Regions from separate parts of the Homo sapiens genome. Here region 1 is linked to region 2. The links are contacts of gene promoters, found by promoter capture Hi-C in human tissues and cell types (Jung and others, 2019). All regions are on one chromosome and are shown on one strand. Each heading gives the region's core, a stretch centred on a gene start or on the middle of the fragment in contact. The rest is flanking DNA. Distances are from core to core; before and after follow the strand shown. Region 1 has its middle 20 kb from the start of GGTLC2. Region 2 holds the start of PRAME (PRAME nuclear receptor transcriptional regulator).

Region 1 (6,880 bases), core at 1,355-3,854, 110 kb before region 2:
TCTGCGGAGAGATCTTGCTGACACCTGACTCAGCAGCAGGTGGCCCAGGGACCCATGATCTTCCTCCCCCTGGTCCCTCAGACTCAGTCCCCTCTTGTTCATTTCATCTAAATGCTGTGCTGTGTCATTGGGACACTTGCTGATTATTCAGTGGGAATAGTTGGGTCATTTAAGCAACCACACACCCCTGTGGAGTCAACAGGGCCTCTGGTCTCATTTCAGCCATGGTGCTGCTCCTGCTACATCACCCCTCATTGCCACAAGAGATTAGCAATTGGCACCCTCAGCTCGTCTGTTATTTATGTATGTTTTTCTCATCAATGTTTTATGTAAACTTGCAAAAAGCAGGAGAAAACCACACTGGACTGAAAATCTAACTTCAGGCCCCATGGTCTCTGAAGGGGTCCCAGGGTCATGGTCTCTGCACAGCATGTGAGCTCCAGAGGGTGGGTGGTCCCTGGTTGCCCCAGCCAGGTTCCTGGTCACTCCAGTCAGATCCCTGGTCAGTGTCCTGTCACTGAGTGTGGACAGCCCCATGGTCAGAGCTGAGGCAGGTGAGAAGCCCTGTCCCTCTGAAGAGTGTCTCCTTAAGGATGCTGGGGATGCCCCATGAAGGGATCAGGATCCCAAATGCTTCACCCCACCCACCCGAGACTCCCCTGAGCACAGGAGTTTCCCCCTGAGTCAGAGTCCGCCTGGAGCTGGAAGGTGAGGCAGAAGGAAGTGAGGTATGGTGTATCTGGAAGTGCCCAGGACAGAGGGCTCAGCTCCCCAGGTTGCTGCTGGACTGAGAGGGACAAGGCCCTGAGAGTGGCAGGAGGCTCAGACAGCCATCCTGGGTGAAGAACCCGGGCCCTGGGAGCCCCGTCACCTCACGCTGTGCCCCCTCCTAGAGCACCTCAACCTTGGGATGTCTCCAAAGAAATCCCCTTCCTGAGTAAGCTGCCCCAGTTGACACCTGGTCCCAGCCTCCTCCAGCTGCATTTCCCAGGTGAGGCCTTCACTGTGCCGGGCTTCTGTCAGTGTCCTGGGGTGACACTGTATGAGTCTGACCCTCAGAGAATGGTCACTGCAGCCTGAGGGGATAGGATGAACTGCACTCACTTTCAGTCTGAAGACTGATTCTTGGACACCTGTTGAACGCCAGGCTGGCCTTCTCTTTGCCCCAGCTGGGCAGCCCCAGCCTTAATCCTGACTGCTCCTGGCTGCAGCTCTGCTGCCCCCAGCTGGTGGAGGAGACTCAGCCCAGGAGCTTTTTTCTTCCACGTGCCTCCACAGCACCTGTCACCTCAGAAGTTGAGGACCAGACAGTCCAGCCCCATTCTGTGCAGGGTGACCCAATCTGCCCTGCCCAGCCCAGCACAGAGAGTTCGCACACGCAGGGTAGGAAGTTGGGGCTATAGAAGTGTCTCAGGGTTGAAATGCCCTCCTCTAGTGGTTTTGTTCAGTCCGGACTAATTAGAGTGAGTCAACTGAAGCTCTTCTGCAAAGCTTTCAAAGTCCAGAGAGATGCATGTGCCATCCTACAGGGACCCAGGCTTTCTATGTACTTAGGCATCAAACTGGTGCACCTCCCACCCAATAAGAGCAGCTGTGATTCACTGTGATTTCCTGATGTTCCAGGCACTGCAGCTTAGTTGTGAGCTAACATCACCATCATCGGCACCATGAAAACATGAAATTATGTTTATCTTTATTTTATTCAACACCTCTCAGAGTTTGTACGGAGAGGATTTCTACACTAGCCTAGTCTGCCTTCCTGATGAAGCTGGGAATCTCCTGCTTATTCTCAGCTAGGGACCGCTGTTCCCACCATACAGAAAGCAAGCTCTTTTGAGCCCCTGTCTTGGAATCCCTGCAGAGAAAAGACAAGAAGTTCCACGTCTGAAACCCACTGAAGCCCATTAAATGACATCCCCTCAGCAGGCTTTAATTTACATGACTTTCATTGTTTTTCTGTCTTTTAATTTTGAATGAAGAAAAGAGCTTCCTCAGTTCAGTATAAGCCTCCTCACTTCACAGCAGGTAACACTGAGGCCAAAAGAGACTAAGTGGCTCAGGAGAACAGAGAGCAGTGGGGGCAAGTCCAGGAGCTGATCCAGGTGTCCTGAGTTCTGAACCTGGGCCCTTTCTGGTGGAGATTAACCAGGGTGGGGAAGGAGGGGGCATGAGGGTCAGGCAGGCAGCAGGGCTGTGTCCTGTGGACACACTGCCATCCCCCATCATGGCCTGCCCATCCTGAGAAGCCCATTTCAGCCTGCAGAAAGTGGGGGCTGTACCACAGGCTAGAGCTGGAGAATCTGTGGGGACTGGGGCCTGCTTTGGATGCAGGGCCTGGCCTGGCTCCTGCTGGTTCTCTCTGCACTGTTGCCTGCTCCACTGTCTCCTGAGCAGGTGGGGGACAGGTGTCTTATGGCTAACAGGTGTCTCATGACCCCACACCTTAGGTTAAAGAGATGTTGGGGCTCATTCTCAGGATCCCATCTCCTGAAGCATCACCTGGGCTGAGCTCAGGGTCAGGAATAGGCTTAGGGTCCTGTGGGGGCTTAGCCTGGGGCAGTGTCTGTGGAAAGAGTGAGGAGAGGTAGCAGGTGATGGACCAAGGCCGGGGAGAAACATCCAGGAGCTTTGTCTCTGGAACCCATAGCTGAGCCTGGCTCCCCTCATATTCCCAAAAGTTCCCACGAAAATGCTCCCTTCATCGCGCTGGACTGCAGAGAACTTGGCAGGCTTCAGTGTAGGCTTCGTGGATTTGGTTCATATGGAATTATTCTTCTTCTCATATCTCACATGGAAGTGACTGTCACTGCTTATTTGAACAATCTTGAAGGAAAGACAGGAATCCCAACAGCCCTGGTGTCAGGACACAAGTCAGGAATCTCAGGAGGGTTTTGGTCTTACTTCCTCATCACTTGGGATGTGTGGGACAGCAATAGTGATCAGTGTCACTGCTGGGATCCCAGGGAGTCTCAAAGAAGCTCACTGGCCAGACTTGGAGCCTGAGAATCAATCTTATGTCCACTGTGGAAAATGTTGCTGCTTGTATATGAACTGCAGTAATAATCAGCCTCGTCCTCAGCCTGGAGCCCAGAGATGGTCATGGAGGCCATGTTGCCAGAGCTGGGAGCCAGAGAAGTGATCAGAGACTCCAGAGAGCCTATAACTGACTTCATAAATCATGTGCCTGGGTGCTGCTGGCACCAGGAGACATAGTTATAATGCCCAACGTCACTGCTGGTTCCAGTGCAGGAGATGGTGACCGACTGTCCAGGAGACCCGGGTACTGAGTGAGGCTGAGTCAGGGCAGACTGAGCCCGAGAGCCCGGAAAAAGGAAAAAACACACTCTAGTGAGTCAGTGCTGGGCCCAGGTGAGCCTGAGGAGCAGGAGACTAAGAATCAGCCCAGAGGTCCCTGAGGCCCCTTTCCTGGAGGCATCACCTGTGCCCTGAGTGAGGAGGGTGAGGAGGAGCAGAGCCCAGGCCATGGTGGAGACGTCCCGAGAGCGCTGCCTCCTGAGACTCAAGCACTGGGTATGCCCCCAGCCCTGTCTTATCCGCTCTGCCTCAGAGGAGGGCGGGGCATCCATGAAAATCTGTGTCCTGGCTCCTCTCCTCATCCCACTCTCACCTGGGCCTGGGCTCAGAGACTTCTTCCCTGGACAGTGGGGCTCAGCTGAGGAGATTAAAGTCCTTGTTTGTCTATTCTGATGGTAGGAACTTGATCTCTTTGTACCAGGAGAGAAAGATCTGCTGAAGTCCCTCACCTGAGTGAGCTCCTGGCCCTCAGTGTCTCTGCTGTGTGGTGCCTGTGTCTCTGTGACCCTCCAGGCCTGGGCCACCCCACAGATACCACTGCCTGGCACCTACCTTTAGGCTCGCTCTACTGTCAGGAAATGAGGCTGCTCACCCCGTGGAAACCCCTGCTGTGTGTGGTTGATCCTTGGTCTCCCCAGCTGCAGCCTTGTCCCATTCCCACCCCCACCCTTGGTGCTGAGGCATCTGCAGCATCGAATCCCTGGAGCACATCAGCCACCCCAGGCGATGCACCCACATCCACACAGGGCACATGTTGTGGGGAGCCCTGTGGAGGGAACACAGAGCACTGACCGGAGCCACTCTGCACACAGGTGATCCATGGAGACATGGCCAGGGGGAAGGGAAAGTTTGCTAACAGGCATTTCTGTGTGCACCAGAGTGATATTTATTGTGAATGACTTATTGAAAGATTTAAGTCCATTTTACTTTGATTTATTTGTTGAGTCACAGTGGTACATACTTCCTTCTTTCTTGATTTTCCCCATCTCAGCACATCCATGGGGCACCATAAAGCTGATCTCTCTCAACCCTGCAACACTGAAGACACATAGACATTCTATAAGTTTGTTTTTGTTTTTTTTCTCAAAAAGCTTTTATCTTTTTTACCTTTTCCCATTGCCTATTACAAAACTCTTTTAATGTTCCATATTAAAATAAATATTAATGGATTTGGGTTCCATTTAAATATTATAACATACACTGTCCTGTCTTCCCACCCAGATTCATCTCTGAAACCACAACAAGTGCGTGGAGCAGCTATTTGAGCACCAGGAAAGGAAATTGTACGCAGTGGTTTGGGATGGCCCCAGCAGATGAAATACAACAGTCAGTGTGAGACTCCTATTTTTTCTCGGTGTCCCCTGGCAGGATTCCAGACAGCCCCAAATCTGAAGGGGCACAAACTTGAAAACAAAAAGAAGTCCAGAAATCCCTCTTGTTCAGGATTGAGGATAGGAAAGGAAACTTCTTCGGCTCAAAGTGAAGGCTCAGTCCCCTACTCCACACCCCTGTTCTCATCTCTCTTGCACCAGTGCCTCTCCCTGGGTTCACACTGATATCCTATGGATGGAGATGATATTTCCTGCACCAGGTCACTCCACAGCCCCTGTTAACCTGAAGAGGTGCAGACCAGCACTGTTCAATCACAGTATGATGAGCCTAATGGGAATCCCACTAGGCTAGTCTAGTCACCACATTAGACATATAAAGAGAAGAAGGTAAATGACTTCAAATAATATATTTTATTTACCTAGCATATCAAAAATAGTGCCATTTTCATATGTAATCTAAGTATGATTGTCATGCAATATTTTAGATACTTTTTCACAGCTATTATTACTATTTTTTGAAGAATCTTTATGTGGAGATTATGTGGCTGATGGAGATGTGGATGGGTTTCCTGTTCACAGGATGAGATGTAGTGGCTTTTTAAGTGACAACTTTGATAGGCTGAAGAAGGGGTGAAAACAATGATTTTTTTGCACAGGATATACAGATTGGAGGTGGGCAGTGTCCATCCTGCAGCTCACCCTCTGGGTGCATCTGTGGTCCCTGCATGGGGCGAGGCTGCTCCTGCTGCCCCTGGATTCCTGCAGGAGGATCTGACTCCAACTCTCCCTCAGAACCCAGAGCATCTGGCATGTCAGTCTCCCTTTTCATTTCACACAAATGAAAAAAAAAACCACTCAGGTCTCGCTGGGCATTTGCAGACTCGCAGTGGTAATTTAAGAGTAAACTGATGCTTTCTAGTGTACAGTGGCCTCTTCAGCTCCCTCATGGCCCGTGTTGGGGATGGCTGGTGATCTTAGTTTGGGTTCCCTGGAAACAGACTCTGAGATGGAGAATATCATACACAGATGATTAAGAAAGTGATGGAGGCAACACCAGGCAGAAGGAGGCCCTGACACATATTGAGGCTTCAGTCAGCCCTACAAGGAGCTATGGATCTTGGAGGATTTTCAGGTCCTGTTATACTGAGGAAGAGTCTTGAGACCTTGGCCACAGGCAGTCATGAAACCAAACCTCCCTGAGAAGAGACATAAACCTGGGGGAGGCAGATTTCTGCACCGAACAGCTCTGAGCTGCCAGAAGCTCCCAGGAGTGCTGTGTGGGTGAGCTCATAAGAGGGGATCTGGGAGGATCCCACAGTGTCCACTCCACTAGTTTTTCTGTAGAGAATGACAGGAGCCTCAGCTGGGCAGTTCTGGGGACTGATTCAGGACATTTCGGCCAAGGACTGGCCTATCACCACCTATGGAAATCCAGAGATAACTGAGGATATTGACCTTGGTCTGCTTGGAAGATCTAATTTCCCTGAATCACAGTGGAGTCCACAAAACCCCAATACATCCTGGTCACCTCAGCCCTAAATCCATTCTGGATGCCCCCTCTGCACAGCCTGCCTGGAGGGCTGAAGGAAGTAAAGACTGGGGGTCTCAGATCCAGGTGAACTGGGTCATGCATGCTCATGGCTTTGTCCACAGTGTTGCCGGGCTGGAGGACGACAGCAGCACAGATGGGGAAGGGGTCTGTGTCTTACTTCCTTGTCTGCCTCTGTCACTGTGTGCAGTGCCACTGCCCCACACCTGAGAGGAAAGCCTCGTCCCCAGCCTGGGCTCCACTGATGGTCAGGGTGACCATGTTCCCCGAGTTGGAGCTGGAGAATCACTTAGAGATCCCTGAAGGCCATCTGCTATCCCCATAGATGACCTGCACAAGGGCCTGGCCTGGTTTCTGCTGGTACCATTAAGCAGGTTTAATTCCAATATTATTTCCCCTACAGGTGATCCTGGGTGTCTGTCCTGGGGCCACTGACACTGAGGGTGGCTGTGTCAGCACATATGAGGCCACAGAGCCTGCAAGGAGAGAAAAGAGGAGCGAAAAGGCCTGAAACTCTGGGGATTAACCAAAGAATATCTTGCCACTTGCCTGAACTGACCTGAGCCCCAGGAATAAAAGTGCCCTTAGGGCACCAAGAGAACAGGAGCACAGTGTGGGGGGATTTCTGCCCCACCAGCCCCCTGCCCTGCGGCAGGTTCATGAGCATCCTGCCCACCACAGGTAG
Region 2 (6,784 bases), core at 3,561-6,060:
CTCAGGTGATCTGCCTGCCTCAGCCTCCCAAAGTGCTGAAATTACAGGCATGAGCCACCGCGCCTGGCCTCCAAAAGAATTTTCCAAAATGGTGATTCTCCCATTAAGACAAACGGTCATGGGAACGTAGGCAAGCCACTCTGAATTCTCTCCAAGACCTTCCACTGTGGCCTGTTGCGCATCTGCAGAATCCTGCAGCAGATTGGGAATCAGGGGCCATTTCAAACACGTGTTATTAAGTCAGGAGCCCAGTATGCACTAAGTGTCGTGGGAGCACAGCCAGCCAGTGTGACCCCACGCTGGGGGCAAGGAGCCTTGCACCAGGACTACACAGCCTGAGTTCCTTCTTGACTTGACCACTTTGTCTTGGACCTGTGGTTTGCCTTTTCTTACTGTCAGTGTCTTCACCTAAAAAAACACGAAAACAGCAGTAAAGTTCACAAACTCCTTGCATTCACCTGCTTAGAAAATCGAAAGGCAAATTGTTTCCATTAATCAGCGAGGTCTCTATGATTTTTATTCCCAGAATGGTTAGGTTGAGAGTGCTGGTCCCTTCAACTCCAGGTTTATTTTAGGTGGTCATAGAAAAATACATACTTTTCTCTCTCAGTTCTCTATCTCATCCGTGCAAAGGTTAGTCCCGACTCAGCCTCTCTCACTTCCAGGAGCAGAGCAGAACAGACTGTCAAATGCGTCCCCGTCCCTTGCTTCCCTCATTGCAGTCTTAAAGTATCTCTTGTCATCACTCTAATTCAGCACAGGTTGACTCTCACTTTCCAAAATGAAGATACCTCTATTTTCATTGCCGATCAAGGAAAAAAAAATCATATGTTTATGAACTGAGTGTTTGCGTCCCCCCACCACAAATTCATATGTTGAAGCCCTAATCCCCATTGTGGCTGTATATGGAGATGGGGCCTCTAAGGAAGTAATTAAGATTAAGTGAAGTCACAAGGGTCGGGTTCTCATAACTTTCAGCATCCTTATAAGAAGAAGCACCCATGCTCTCTCTCCACACATGCGCACAAAGGGGTCACGTGAGCACAACGCAAAATGGCCTCAGCCTATAAGCTAAGAGAAGATGCCTCAGAATGACACCCACCTTGCTGACACCTTGATCTTGGACTTCCCAGCCTCCAGAACTGTGAGAAATAAATTTTTGTTGTTTAATCCATCCAGTCTGTGATATTTTGTTATGGCAGCTGAAGCAGTCTAATAAATGATAAAAAAAAAAAGTTCAAGAGAATACAGAAAAGTATTTTATAACAAACAGTGTTATCATTTTAGTGACCATTTTCTGTACATGTTAGCCCACTTATCTAAGACATTCACAAATATGAATTACTGATATCCCAGGAACCTTGTAACTCCTACTCCCCATTTCAGGCCTAGCAGAGCCCCAGGAATATGGCATCCGATTGTAAAGAACTCGAAGCAATGAATGAGTGACTGTTATGGTCATACACAATTTTACATGAATAGAATTACATTAGACAATCATTCACGTGATCTGCATTTTTTTTTCAAATATTGCAGACAGACATCATCAGTCATAAAAAAGAAGGGAATCTTGCCATTTGCAACAATACGAATGAACCTGGAGGAAATTATGTTAAGTGAAATAAGCCAGATGCAGAAAGACAAATACTGTACGAGCTAATAATATGTGGAATCTAAAAAGTGGAACTCTTTTGACATGGTTTGGTAATATAACAAATACAAAAAAAATTAAAGGAAAGGGAAAAAAGAAACACAAAAAGTGGAACTCATAGAGGCAGAGTAGAATGGTAGTTCCCAGGGGCTGTGGGTGGGAGGAATGAGAGATGTTGGTCAAAGGCTACAAAATTTTAGTTATAAGATGGTAAATCCTGAGACTCTAATATACAGCATAGTAACTATAGTTAATAATGCTATATTATTAATTGAAATTTGCTAACAGAGCACACACACATTGACTGCTGGGGTGAAAGATGTGTTAACTAATTTGATTAATCATCAAACAAGGTATATGTGGATCAATGTATATGAATTGTACACCTTGAATCCATACAATTTTTATTTGTCAATTATACCTCAAGAAACCTGGAAAAAAATCAAACATTACAGACATCTTATTGTATTTTCTGTGTCTTATCCAAAAAAAGCACCCGGAGCTCAGCAAAGCACTTGATGTTTGCCCTCACACTGTTCCTCTCCCATTCCAGTTGTCGACCAAAAGGAACCATCAGACAAAAAACACCTCCAAATTTGTTGAATTTATTCAGGAATTAGAATACAAAATTATACGCTGGGCATGGTGGCTCATGCCTGTAATCCCAGCACTTTGGGAAGTCGAGTTGGGAGCAACACTTGAGGCCTGGAGTTCAAGCCCAGCCTGGGAAACACAGTGAGACTCTCTCTACCAAAAAAAAAAAATTTTTAATAAAGTAAATACATAAATTAGCTGGGCATGGTGGTGCATGCCTGTTGTCTTAGCTACTCAGGAGGCTGAGGTGGGAGGACTGCTTGAGCCCGAGAGTTGGAGGCAGTGGTGAACTACGATTATGCACTACACTCCAGCCTGGGTGACAAAGCAAGACCCTGTCTCAAAAAATAAATAAATATAAAAATAAATATAAATTTACAAAAAAAAATTAAAAAAGAGAAAAAGCATTATAACCTAAGATGCTCAGCTATGGCAAGCCATATATGCATCTCAAGAGGGGAGGGCAAAGGGAAGGTTGTATTGGCAAAAAAAGAGATTTAAATAAGCTGCTTGCAAACAGTTCACCGGTTATGAAGACTCAAAACCACAGTTGGCATCAGTTCATTGGTGGAGACGCTGTGCCTAGGCAGGTGTTCTTTCAAAAGCATCTTATCTAAATTGTTGTGATTCCAAAACAGGAATGTCTTGCAGGGCTATTTCGAAAAGTCCCGAGACAGCCAACCCTTTTTAAAAATATAGATGGGGTCTTGCTATATCACTCAGGCTAGTCTTCAATTCCTGGCCTCAGGGGATCCTCCAACCTTGGCCTCCCAAAGTGCTGGGATTACAGGGGTGAGCCACCACACCCAGCTTCCTGAGACAGCTTTTATCTCAGCCATGTAAGCATGAGCCCTTCCCTTTCATACCCTCAGGGTTTTACTTTGGGTCAACAAATAGTGAGTTTATTTTGGTATGTGCAACTTTCAAACACCCATCGCCATAAAAGAAAGGACCAGCCTTGGCCAGGCACAGTGGCTGATGCCTGCAATCCCAGCACTTTGGGAGGCCGAGGTGGGCGGATCATGAGGTCAGGAGATCAAGACCATCCTGGCTAACACGGTGAAACCCTGTCTCTATTAAAAACAAAAAAATTAGCCAGGCATGGTAGCGGGCACCTGTAGTCCCAGCTACTTGGGAGGCTGAGGCGAGAGAATGGCATGAACCCGGGAGGCGGAGCTTGCAGTGAGCCGAGATCGCGCCACTGCACTCCAGCCTGGGCAAGAGCGAGACTCCGTCTCAAAAAAAAAAATAAATAAATAAAGGACCAGCCTCGACTGACAGTCGGCACTCCGCAGGCATCCTCCACAATCCTCTCTCCTCTCTGCCTCTTGCCCTACAACCTGGCCATGCCATGATTCCTCCCTACCTGTCCTCCTCTGTGGACTTCATGACCACGCTCTGTCCTATGAGGCTGGACCAGGGTCATGTTCACTCACTTCTCTCCCCTCCCTGCCATTTGTTCCACTCCCCAACTTGTTCTCCACGCATCGATCTCAATGGAGCAACAGCAATCAGATGATGAAAATAAATAATGGTGGCCAGTCTTCAAATGGATCCCCTTTTCAATCCCGCACTATCCATCTGCTGCCTTCTCATCAGCCCTCTGCCCCAGTTTCTTTCCCTTCTCAAACTGGACAAGCACCGTACTCCGTGAAGATGTGTGCAGCCTGTTCCCATGCCCTGAACACCATCCCTTCAAGCTCCTCTGGCTGCTCCCTGCTCAGGTCTCAGAAAAGGAGAGCTGGGCAACCCTCCCAGGGAGCCGCCCGCCTGTGTAACTTTCAGTACCAGCCTGTTTGCTTTCTTGAGATAATTAGCTACAACGGCCACTTTAAAACAATGGTCTTCTTATTTTGTTTTTTGTTTTCACCCTAAACTTTATAAAGTCAGAAATCGTAAGTCCTTGAGCATCCACAGCCACTCAAGGACGAACCTTTGCTGAATGCCTCAAGCAGAGAGGGGGAGGCTGAGTCTCTGTTTCGAAGGTGAAAACACAACGGTTTTTATCAGCCCTGTTTTATGCGACAATCCCAGGTCGAATCTGGATCAATGCAATGACTTCCTTTGCATGGACCTATGTTTTGTTCGTGCATTCATCTGTGCAGCTGGGAACCCGCAGCTCTGTTCACTGGCATGGGGATGCCTCGGGGAATGGCAGGGCAGAGCCACAAAAAGCCAGCCTCACCACGCGGCCTGTTGCTCTTAGCCACCATGCCCATCATAGCCTGTGGCAGGAGATGTTGGGGTCCCCCCCCCCGACCCCTTTCAGGAAAACAGAGTTTGTGGAGGCGGAGTACTTCCCAGGCCTGACTGATAAAACAATTCAAAAGACTCAAAGAGATTCCTCGCCTGTCCCGTCCCTTGAAGGGCCTTGAACACGGGGTCCTTCCGCTTGGCTCCTAGCCCGTCCCTCTCCCCTTACCAGGAAAGGATCCTCCCCATCTCTGCAGAAGCCTGACCATCCCCCTAGAGGGCCTGGGAGGAAGTGGGTTTTGCATACAGTCCCTGTTGACTCTAGTGCCCCCTGCTGGCCCCAGACGCGAGTTCCGGCGAGGCTTCAGGGTACAGCTCCCCCGCAGCCAGAAGCCGGGCCTGCAGCGCCTCAGCACCGCTCCGGGACACCCCACCCGCTTCCCAGGCGTGACCTGTCAACAGGTCTGTATTGGCGACAAAAGGAGCAGCCCTGAATGTAGGGAAAGCAGGGCGGAGTCCTCTGCAGGCTCGGGGGAGGGGAGGGGCGTGAATGCGTGGATTTCTGTGGAGAGTGGAAACACGGGGAGTCGAGGGGAGCATGCGCGGGCCTCAGAAAGTTCTGGGAAACCGACTCCCGGGAGCAGGGAGGAACGCGCGCTCCAGAGAGTAAGTTAATTGAATCCCGGGGGGTGGTCTCTTCAGCCCGGGGGGTTACAGAAGTAGGTAAATCCAGAGATTACCCAGCCAAGGCCAGGGGCATCTTTTCTAGACTTGCGGGGCGGGGTGGGGCGAGAACTTGAGCTCAGGGGACCCTGGAACCGGCCCCTGCACCCCGCATCCCACTGAAGAAAAGGGAGGTCGCCAGAAGCACAGACCCAGGACAGAGTCCAGACTTGGACGTCTCCGTGATCCCAGAACACCCCGTCCCACACTCCCAGTCAGCCCCCCGCCTCCCCACTGCCTCTCCATTCGCCCACCGCACCCCCTTTTTCCACCCTGCCCCCACCCTACTGTCTGGTGGGAAAGGCCGCAGCCATCACGTATTCACCCATCCCCACCCCTCACCCCCCACCTTCTGACTTTCTTTCCACATCCCCACCCCCTCCCCCACTCTCTGCCTCTTTTCCCTCCCCCTCCCCAACCCTTTGTTTTTCTTACACATCCCCACCCCTCCCCCAACCTCTGTCTTCTCTCATCCCCACCCCCACCCTGTTTCCCTTCCCCCATTCCCGCCCTGGCCCGCCTTCTGTCTCCCTTCCCCCATCCCCACCCCTCCCCCCCTTCTGTCTCCCTTCCCCCATCCCCACCCCTCCCCCGCCTTGTCTACCTTCCGCCATCCTCACCCCTCCCCCACCCTGTCTCCCTTCCCCCACCCCACCCCTCCCCCACCCTCTGTCTCCGTTCCTAATCCCCACGCCTCCACCACTCTTTGTTTCCCTTCCCCCATCCCGACCCCCCACCCCACCCTGTGTTCCTTCCTCCATCCCCCCCCACTGTCTTTCTTCTCGGTTCCCCACCCTGTCTCCCTTCCCGCATGCCCACCCCTCCCCCACCCTGTCTCCCTTCCCCCATGCCCACCCCTCCCCCACCCTGTCTCCCTTTCCCCATGCCCACCCCTCCCCCACCCTGTCTTCCTTCCCCCATGCCCACCCCTCCCCCACCCTGTCTTCCTTCCCCCATTCCTAACCCTCCTCCCGCCCCCCCTTCCCCACCCCCATCTCCCCTCCTTCCCCACCCCCATCTCCTCCCCACCCCCAGCCTCCTCTGCTCTCCAACTTCCTCTCCCCTTTTCCCCTCCTCCTGCTCCCTTCTCCTCTGCTCCTCCCCCCACTGCCCCTCCCCCACTGCCCCTCCTCCTCCCAGTCTTTGAAAACAAGCCCCTCTCGACTCTCTGGGCGACCTCACTGGATCTCGTGAGATTTTGCCCTGGAAGGACTGAGAAACGGGGATTGGTCAGACCAGGCTGCCCAGCCCCCCGGTCCCCACCGCCGCCCCCCCCGCCCCACGCAGCGGCTAGGGCGCTTAGCTGAGCCATTGTCTCGTTCTTTCCTTCCAGCAACTTCGCGGTGTGGTGAACTCTCTGAGGAAAAACGTAAGTTCGAGCCCTGATTCCTCCGCTTCCCCGCAGGGTGACCTTGGGCTTGTGCCCCCAGCACCACCCCTGTCCCGGGTCCCTGTTTTCTCTCTGGAAATGGGTTGAAGACCAAAGAAAATAATGTGCGCCACTTGGGTCACCCCGGGCCGCCTGCCCCGGAAAATTGGCCCCAGTTGAGGAGTTGTGGCTGTAAGGATGCCTTGAACCGAGGCGGCGGTGCTCGTGGTTGGAGCTCTCCAGGGTGGGTGCGC

Evidence for each region. Contacts are between HindIII fragments. The study calls those that stand out against the background at their distance.
Region 1: a fragment that was not itself captured here is called in contact with the fragment with the promoter of PRAME in region 2 in 2 of the 25 tissues and cell types used here (H1 embryonic stem cells and dorsolateral prefrontal cortex).

The regions. Positions count from the first base shown.
Region 1 is chr22:22,661,078-22,667,957 of GRCh38, reverse strand. It overlaps IGL, the pseudogene IGLV3-29 and the pseudogene IGLV2-28. Among named protein-coding and RNA genes, the nearest start is that of GGTLC2, 20 kb to the right of the region's middle. RefSeq lists a silencer at 914-1,093. The HindIII fragment of the contact is 6,688 bases long and covers 1-5,948 here.
Region 2 is chr22:22,557,291-22,564,074 of GRCh38, reverse strand. It overlaps PRAME (PRAME nuclear receptor transcriptional regulator), which reads left to right and starts at 4,810. Exons shown (of 6, transcript NM_206956.3): 1 at 4,810-5,104; 2 at 6,495-6,530. LL22NC03-63E9.3 (a long non-coding RNA gene) reads right to left here and starts at 4,732. Exons shown (of 3, transcript NR_027426.2): 1 at 4,668-4,732; 2 at 1,103-1,212; 3 at 1-408. It also overlaps IGL. RefSeq lists an enhancer at 4,599-4,893. The HindIII fragment of the contact is 17,569 bases long and covers 1-6,784 here.